Regions from separate parts of the Homo sapiens genome. Here region 2 is linked to region 1. The links are contacts of gene promoters, found by promoter capture Hi-C in blood cells and fetal thymus (Javierre and others, 2016). All regions are on one chromosome and are shown on one strand. The core of a region is centred on a gene start or on the middle of the fragment in contact, and the rest is flanking DNA. Distances in the headings are between cores, read along the strand shown.

Region 1 (4,449 bases), core at 1,228-3,727:
CTACTAGGCCTTTCAATGTGGTTGTTTATTTGTTCGTTTTTTTGAGATGGAGTTTTGCTCTTGTTGCCCAGGCTAGAGTGCAATGGCGCAATCTCAGCTCACTGCAACCTCTGCCTCCCAGGTTCAAGTGATTCTCCTGCCTCAGCCTCCCAAGTAGCTAGGATTACAGGCATGGGCCACCACACCCGGATAATTTTGTATTTTTAATAGAGACAGGGTTTCACCACATTGGTCAGGCTAGTCTTGAACTCCTGACCTCAGGTGATCCACCTGCCTCTGCCTCCCAAAGTGCTGGTAGTATAGGCATGAGCCACCATGCCTGGCCTCAGTGTGTTTTCATTCTATGTTGGACATTTGGCATGCACAGAATTACATTTCATTTTAAAAATTACTGAGCATTGACTACATTTGTACTATATGCTGTAGGGAATCTTTGCTAACATTTAATCAAGCACATAAATACCTAATCAAATTTTTTAAATGTTATAAAAAGTTAGTTATAATTCTTCCACTTTTCCCCACAAGCCTAAAGCGCAGAGCAGAGACTGAAACTGGTAGGCACTCAATAAACACTTGTTGAATGAATGCAAGAAGGCTGGAAAGTCCAATATCAAGGAGTTGTTATTTGGTGAGGGCCTTCTTGCTGTGTCATCCCATGGCAAAAGGCAGAATGGCAACAAAAGAGCCAAATTTTATTCAGCCTTAAAAGTGAAGGAAAGGCCAGGTGCGGTGGCTTATACCTGTAATCCCAGCACTTTGGGAGGCCAAGGCAGGTGGATCACCTCAGGTCAGGAGTTGGAGATCAGCCTGGCCAACATGGCAAAACGCCATTTCTACTAAAAATACAAAAAATTAGCCGGGTGTGGTGGTACACACCTGTAGTCCCAACTACTTGGGAGGCTGAGGTGGTAGAATCTCTTGAACCCAGGAGGCGAAGGTTGCAGTGAGCTGAGATTGCGCCACTGCACTCCAGCCTGGGCAACAGAGCAAGACTCTGTATCAAAAAAAAAAAAAAAAAAAAAAGAAAAGAAAGAAGGAAATTCTAACACATGCTATATGAGGGCATTAAGCTAAGAAACAAGCCAGTCACAAAAGTCAAATACTGGAAGATTCCACTTATATGAGGAAGTTAGTGTAGTCAAAATCATAAAGACAGTAAGTAGAATGGTAGTTGCCAGGGGCTGGGGGGAGGGAGGAATGGGGAGTTATTTTTTAATTAGTATAGAGTTTTAGTTGTACAAGATGAAAAGAGTTCTGGAACTAGATGGCAGTGATGGTTGCATATTATGAATGTATTATCACTAAACTGCACACTTTAAAATGTTTAAGATGGTGAATGTTCTTATATTTTACAACTAAAAAAATAAAAAATAAAACTACACATAGTGAAGAAGTAGGAAATGAAGTTGCAACCAAACGGATCAATATTTTGAGTGGGAAATCTAATACTTAATTCAGTGCTAATTTTTATATTTTTAGTAGAGACAAGGTTTCACCATGTTGGCCAGGCTGGTCGTGAACTCCTGACCTCAAGTGATCTGCCCGCCTCGGCCTCCCAAAGTGCTGGGATTACAGGTGTGAGCCACCGTGCCCGGCCTCACGCCCTTCTCTTAATTCCATTTTCTCTCCCCTCTGCCCCTTAATACACTGCACTTAACCTTGTCATAAGCCAAGGAGGACCTGAAATAAGAATACTCAAAACACGGTTGAAATAAACAAGAAGACAGAAACTAAAGCCAGCATTTTTTTTTTAATGCTTGGTAACTGTCCCTTTGTGTCTCCCTAAGTGCAGGATAAACTTCTTGGGGCAAATACAAACGTTTGATAAAATTCTGGGCCAAGGAGTCCTGCACTGGATATATTCAACAAATTACCTGCCGATGATAACAGCGTAAGTCAAACGAGTTCTAAAAGTAACAAATGACTTAGTTATCTGGATAAATCCGTCCTTCCTTTTCTTTTTCACCTAGCCCTTTTGTCGGGCCTCTAAAATGTAAGATAACTACGTGGGAAAGCAAGCAGCGGCTGGTGGTGTGTTTTTACCCTGATTTTATCACTCCAAGTATCTACCGTGGCTGGTTTTGCGAAGACTAGCTTTGTATCAGAATGAGGTGTGGCTGGAACGCCTGAGGAAAGCAAACCAAGTTTTCCAGAGGACGCCGTTGACAGCGTCTCCGCACACCGCGCCGGGGTAGGAACTTCCTCCCACCTGGTTCGCCCGGCGGGGAACCAATAAAGTTGAGCGCGTTCAAAGGGGTCCTAATCTTCCAGGGTCCACTGGGCAGGCCTGCAAAATAAGGCCCCTAGAAACTCCCTGAGGTTTTCAAGTCTTCTCCCTCTCCTCGGAATTTTTTCCCCTTCATTCGCATTACTTTTATTCTGACGGAAACGGCGCGGGCTAGGCCCCAGGAGGGGCGCATTTCAGGTGCAACTGGCCCGGCGATCGCGGCGGGCAACCCCTACGAGGCCCCCGGTTGACTAGGAGCTGGCGGTCCGAGCTGTGGCTTGGAAGACCGACGCGATGAAGCCCAGACCTGCAGGGTTCGTGGATAATAAACTCAAGCAGCGAGTCATCCAGGTGTGTATTCTGCACCGCTTGGCCTCGCCAAGGGCCCCGATCGCTGCCCCAGGGTGCCACTCCCCTTTTGTCGGGTGGCATCCAGGTGGAACTCAACTAGTCTTCTTTCCCCAGTCTGGGTCTGGGCGTGCGTCTGTTTCTCCTTAGTTGGTGCTGCCGGGGCCTTCCCTACCCACGTTGGTGCGGAGTCTCAGGGAGAAGCCGGGGATGGTGGGAGGGTGCAGCTTGGTAGGGCTGCCCAAGTTGTCTGGTCGTCTTCAGCGCAGATCATTCAGTAGAGTGGAGGTAGCCTTTGAATTTTAACCTCTTTGGCTTGTGAAGTTAGCACAGGAATGGTCTTCAAACGCTCGCATTGTAAGAGGTCCTTGAGAAGGGGTGGCATAAATAATATGTTAATTTCCGTTCTCAAGGAACTTACACACTAAAACGAGATAACATGGGTCTGGCAACAGTAACAGGCACTTTGCCTACGGTTTTCTCATTTTCATGACCATCAGTAAAAAGCAGTGTGTGGCAAATACCTCAGAATGTAAGCAAGCAGTCTGAGTTAAAAGGTGGGAGAGAATTTTCTTCACTTAGGAATTTGTGAGCTACACATTCTCCTTGTTTTTCTTTCACTTCACCAGCCCCTAAACAATCTCCTTTTCGGACCCATCTTTTCCTACCAACTTGTAAATGTTGGAAGTGCTCTGTGCCACTGTTCTCTTACCTCCCCTTCCTCCTCTTTCCTCATACACCTTTCTTATCTATCCATACTTCCTATGTGATCTCATTTAGTGTAATAACCTTTGAGTAGTATCTACATACTCTATTATCTATGTATTTATTTCATTTTATTTTTATTTTTCTGAGACATAGTCTCGCTCTGTTGCCCAGGCTAGAGTGCAGTGGCTGTTTATGGGCACAATCATAACTCACTGCACCCTCGGCCTCCCTGACTCAAGTGATCCTCCCTCCTCAGCCTCCCCAGTAGCTGGGACTACAGGTGTGCACCACCACACCTGGCTAATTTATTATTATTATTATTATTTGTAGAGACGGGGTTCCACTATGTTACTCTGGCTGGTCTCTAACTCCTGGGCTCAAGCGATCGGGCCTCAGCCTCCCAAAGTGCTGGGATTACCGGTGCAAGCTGCTGCACTGGCCTCTGTATATTTATGACTGCTAACTTTATATCTCCAGTCCAGATTTTATCTTGAAGTACAGATTGATATATCCAGCTGCCTAGTCAGCATATCTCCAAATTAAAATGGCCAAGTGGAATTTGTGATTTTTTTCTTCCTTCAAATCTGCCCTTTCTTAGTGTTCTGTATCTCAGTAAATGATACTACCGTTCGTCCTGTTGTTAAGGCCAAAAACCTTAAGGATCATTCTGAGTCTTTCATTTCCTGTATACCATCTGTCAACAGCCTGGTTGGCTTTACTTTCAAAATATATTCCAAGTACTTCTTACTGTCTTTCCCTGTAACCATCTTAGTCCAAACCATCATCTCTACCTTATACTATTACAATAGCCTCCTAACTGATCTCTCTGATTCTGCTTTTACCTAAAGCCTATTCCCCACAGAGCAGCCAGAGACATCTAATTTTTTTTTTTTTTTCTGCTCACTGCAACCTCTGCCTCCTGGGTTCAAGTGATTCTCCTGCCTCAGCCTCCCGAGTACGTGGGATTACAAGTGCATGCCATCACGCCTGGCTACTTTTTGTATTTTTAGTAGGGATGGGATTTCACCATGTTGGCCAGGCTAGTCTCGAACTCCTGACCTCAGGTGATCTGCCCGCCTCAGCCTCCCAAAGTGCTGGGATTACAGGCGTGGCCAAGACATCCTTTTAAAGGGAAAAATCGGGCTAGGGGAGGGATAGCATTAGGA
Region 2 (4,449 bases), core at 872-3,371, 95 kb before region 1:
ACCACAAAATGGAATGAAACTTTTTTTTTTTTTTTTTTTTTTTGGAGACAGAGTTTTGCTCTCGTTGCCCAGGCTAGAGTGCAGTAGCACAATCTCGGCTCACTGCAACCTCCACCTTCCAGTTTCAATCGATTCTCCTGCCTCAGCCTCCGAAGTAGCTGGGATTACAGGCACCCGCTGCCACACCCAGCTAATTTTTTTGTATTTTTTTTTTTAGTAGAGACGGGGTTTCACCATGTTTGTCAGGCTGGTCTCGAACTGCTGACCTCGTGATCCACCCGCCTCAGCCTCCCAAAGTGCTGGGATTACAGGTGTGAGCCACCACACCCGGTGGAATGAAACTTTTAACATTATATTGATAAATGAAAATATATGAGGTCTTCATTTCATAGTTGCATTTTTTTCAGAAGCTAAAATGGTGCGAATATCCAGAATAACTTCAAATATAAAATTCTTTTATTTTTAGATTTTTTTTTTTTTTGCATTGTTTAGTTTTTGGTTTCTGTGACCTGATGAATGACAAAGTTTTTTCATTTAACATAGAAAGGTTAACTTCAGGCTGTATGTACAGTAATGTACTTTTCAGAGCATCTTGGTAATTAATGTATTTCTGAAACATTCATTAGTCATTCTAAATTTATATGTAAAATTTGATAAGTGTAATTTTCCCAGAGTTACAGGAGTGTCTCAGTTTGAATTTTTTTCTGTTCCTTAGCCGTATATTTAAGATGAGATTTGTATCAAGCAAAAGAAATGTATCTTATAAATTTAAATACATGCCTAACTTATATGAGAGGGTTTATTATTGCTTACTTTCTCTAGAAACCACTTTTATAAGCTTACAGTTTATATCTCTCTTCTAAATACTCCTTGATAGAAAATCTTGTAGAGCAGTTTATTATACTGTTAATTCTGCAAATAAATGGTAATTTCTCCACAGCATTTCGTGACAGCAGTGTATTTTTTTATGGTTTTAAAGTAAGCATTTTGGGCCGGGTGCGGTGTCTCATGCCTGTAATCCCAGCACTTTGGGAGGCCAAGGTGGGCAGATCACTTGAGGTCAGGAGTTCAAGACCAGCCTGGCCAACATGGCAAAACCCTGTCTCTACTAAAAATACAAAAATTAGCTGGGTGTGGTGGCGGGTGCCTGTAATCCCAGCTACTTAGGAGGCTGAGGCAGGAGAATCGCGTGAACCCAGGAGGCAGAGGTTGTAGTAAGCCAAGATCACGCCACTGCACTCTAGCCTGGGCCACAGTGAGACTCTGTCTCAAAAAAAAAAGAAGAAAAGCATCTTACGAAGAAGAAAAATTGTACTTTAAGTTTTAATTTTAAGTGGACTTGAGATCTTTACCGCTGTATTCCTTGGAGTCTCTAAATATGACTAACATTTCCTACCTACTGATGTCTCTGTTTACATTAATTGGCTTGCTCAAGCTCCACAAGTAGCAACTATGATGAAAAGGTCCCTCCAACCTGTGGTCCTTAATTAGGTTTAAGGTTTAAAAGAAGTTTCAAAATGATGTTTATAAATATCCCTTTTCTCTTGTAAAAAACTGCTAAGATTGTGACCACGTGGTTTCAAGTTAAAAGTAAAATAATAAAGTAGCATTTAAAAGTATTAAAGTCAAAAACACAGTTCAGGAAAAAACTAAATGTGAAAGTGTCTCACAGCTGGAAAGTGGTTTATTGGTTTAGGGGAGAAAAGAGCGAATAATAATTTCCTGTGCTTCACTTTTAAATGCATCAGTGATCAGATTGTCAGAAATACACAAGTACAAATATTGAATCTTTTTAAAAACCTTTAAGTTCAACCATCTAACGTAGACATCCCTTAATAGCCGCCTAGAAGAGAGTGAGTGCATCAAGCTTATGCTTGTCCACGTTAGTTGTAGGAAATTCAATACTTTGCACACCAACTTGTAGTACATTTGTTGGACAGCTCTTAACTTTTGATAAGCCAAAATATACTTTTCTCCTTCTCCTGAGTGTGTCTAGTTCTGATTTCTGGTCTACTTATTCCCTCTTTCACATTGTGACTTAAATAGTTCATTTGCTATTTTTTTCTCTAATCTTTTCAAAACTTGTTGCATAAAACCCCCCAGTGCCCTAGTTATAAAGTCATACTTCTTAAAAAGCAAATTTCAAGTACTTGGAATAGTTCTAAATTTTTATACAAGAACTACAATTGTAGGAGATTGCTTTGAGAGGAGAATTCATTTTTTCCAAGGCTGATGCCTCAGTCACTAATGATCTAGTCTGATTTGAGATTATTTGTTCAAAGCAGAGTTTTAGTAAGATGTGGAATTGAGCAAAGTCACATTTAATCTACTGTGGCTCTACTAAACTAAAATATTTTGAGTCATCTTGAAGCTTTATAAAAAGTTATTTCAAAGGGCATAGTAGAATGGTTTCTACTGTTCTGTTTAGGCACAAACATTTTCTGAAACTTCCATCAACTTTTTTCCCCTGACTGCTGCTTTCTGTCATGTCAGAGGATGAAGTTTTTGCTGCTGCAGCAGAAGTACCTAGAATACCTGGAGGATGGCAAGGTCCTGGAGGCACTTCAAGTTCTACGCTGTGAATTGACGCCGCTGAAATACAATACAGAGCGCATTCATGTTCTTAGTGGGTAAGGAAACTGAGTTCTTGAACTCAGGTTAATGGAGGGCCAAAGTTATATTTCTTTAACATTTTTCCAAAATATAAAATCTTGATTATTGCTAAATTCTTAGATATTTGTCTAGGTAAACTCACTCCTGTGTGGATCAACTATTTTGGTCATTCTAGGAAACTGTTCAGATTAGGATAGAGATATATTTAAGTGGGTGAAAGGGAGAAGAAAATATGTATTGCCTGTGAAATGCTATTTTAGAATGTTCTATGAAAACCCTATTACATTCCAAGGACAGCTTTTGTAGTTAAAAACAAAATAAAAATCATATGATATGGATCACAGTAAACAATGACATTTCCAGTATTGGTGCACACTAACTTTTTTAAGTGAATACTTGTCATGTGCCAGGCCCTTGCTAAGCTTTTCACATAAACAGCCTCATTTAATCCTCACATCAACATCAGTCCTTTTTTGGGGGGTGAAGGGTAGAGACAGGGTCTTACAGTGTTGTCCAGTGTGATCTCAAACTCCTGTGATCTTCCCAGAGTGCAGGGATTACAGGCATGAGTCACTGTACCTCGCCACATTAATCCTTAAAATGTTAGAGTACCCAAAGGTTTGATCCTGGGCCTCTTTATTCTCTATCTACATACTCTTTTTAGGTAATCTCATTCTATACCATGCCTTCACATACTATCTGTATACCAGTGGCTCTTAAATTTAGCTTCTCATCTGAACTCCCAATATGTATATCTACTGGCATACCTGACATTCTCCACTTGGATGTTTAATAGATGTCTCAGTTGTATGAGGCTGGTGTGCAGTGGCACAATCATAGATCACTGCCACCTCTAGTTTCTGGGCTCAAGCCATCCTCCTGCCTCACCCTCCTAAGTAGGTAGGATTTCAGGCATGTACCACCACATGTGGCTAATTTTTTCATTTTTTGTAGAGACAGGTCTCGCTATGTTGCCCAGGCTGGCCTTGAACTCCTCCTAACCTTAAGCAATCCACCTGCTTCGGCCTCCCAAGGTGCTGGGTTAATAGGCATGAGCCACTGCACCCAGCCTCAAAACAAAATTCTGGATTCACCCCTTCATGATAAATGCACTCAACAAACTAGGAATAGAAAGGAACTTCCTTGACCGAATAAAGGGCATTAATGAAAACTCACAGGGCTGGCAGTGAAAGACTGAAACCTCTCTTCTTGTGATCAAGAATAGGACAATGATGTCTACTCTTGCTACGTCTGTTCAACATTGTATTGGAGGTTCTAGCCAAGGAAATTAGGCAAGAAAAAGGAATAAAAGATTGAAAAGGAAAAACTATCTCTGTTCAAAGATGTCATGATTTTATATAAAGAAAATTTAAGGAATCCACTAAAAAACTCTTAGAACTAATAGGCAAGTTCAGCAAGGTTGTAGGATACAAGGTCAATACACAAGAATAATGGTATTTCTATAATCTAGCAATGAATAATTCAGAAAATGGAATTAAGAAAACAGTTTTATTTACACTAGTATAAAAAAGAATAATTTAGGAATAAATTTAACCTCTACAGACCTGTGCCACTTCCAGTATATCGCAAGATCTTCAACCCAGTTGCTTAAGGGAAGAACTTAAGCCTCATATTGCTTTTTCTTTGTCTTTTAACTTTGACATGTATGGCCTAATTCTAAAAAATATAAAATTTTCATTTCTCTGAATCTCCACAGTTTCTAGCCTAGTTAAGCCATGGACATCTCTCCTAGAATATTATAGTAGCTTCCCACCTAGTTACATTGTCTTCACTCTTAATTTCTTTCCTTTTTTTTTTTTGAGACAGAGTTTCACT

The links. Contacts are between HindIII fragments. The CHiCAGO score rates a contact against its expected background, and 5 or more counts as called.
Region 2: a fragment that was not itself captured here is called in contact with the fragment with the promoter of NVL in region 1 in 1 of 17 cell types (non-activated CD4 T cells); the score reaches 5.7 in non-activated CD4 T cells.

What each region holds. Positions count from the first base shown.
Region 1 is chr1:224,328,200-224,332,648 of GRCh38, reverse strand. NVL (nuclear VCP like) reads left to right here and starts at 2,477. Exons shown (of 23, transcript NM_002533.4): 1 at 2,477-2,578. The coding sequence starts at 2,522. RefSeq lists enhancers at 2,260-2,409, 2,430-2,479, 2,670-2,719, 2,770-2,909. The HindIII fragment of the contact is 14,633 bases long and covers 1-4,449 here.
Region 2 is chr1:224,422,699-224,427,147 of GRCh38, reverse strand. WDR26 (WD repeat domain 26) reads left to right here. Exons shown (of 14, transcript NM_001379403.1): 4 at 2,494-2,630. Among named protein-coding and RNA genes, the nearest start is that of WDR26, 9.9 kb to the left of the region's middle. The HindIII fragment of the contact is 504 bases long and covers 1,870-2,373 here.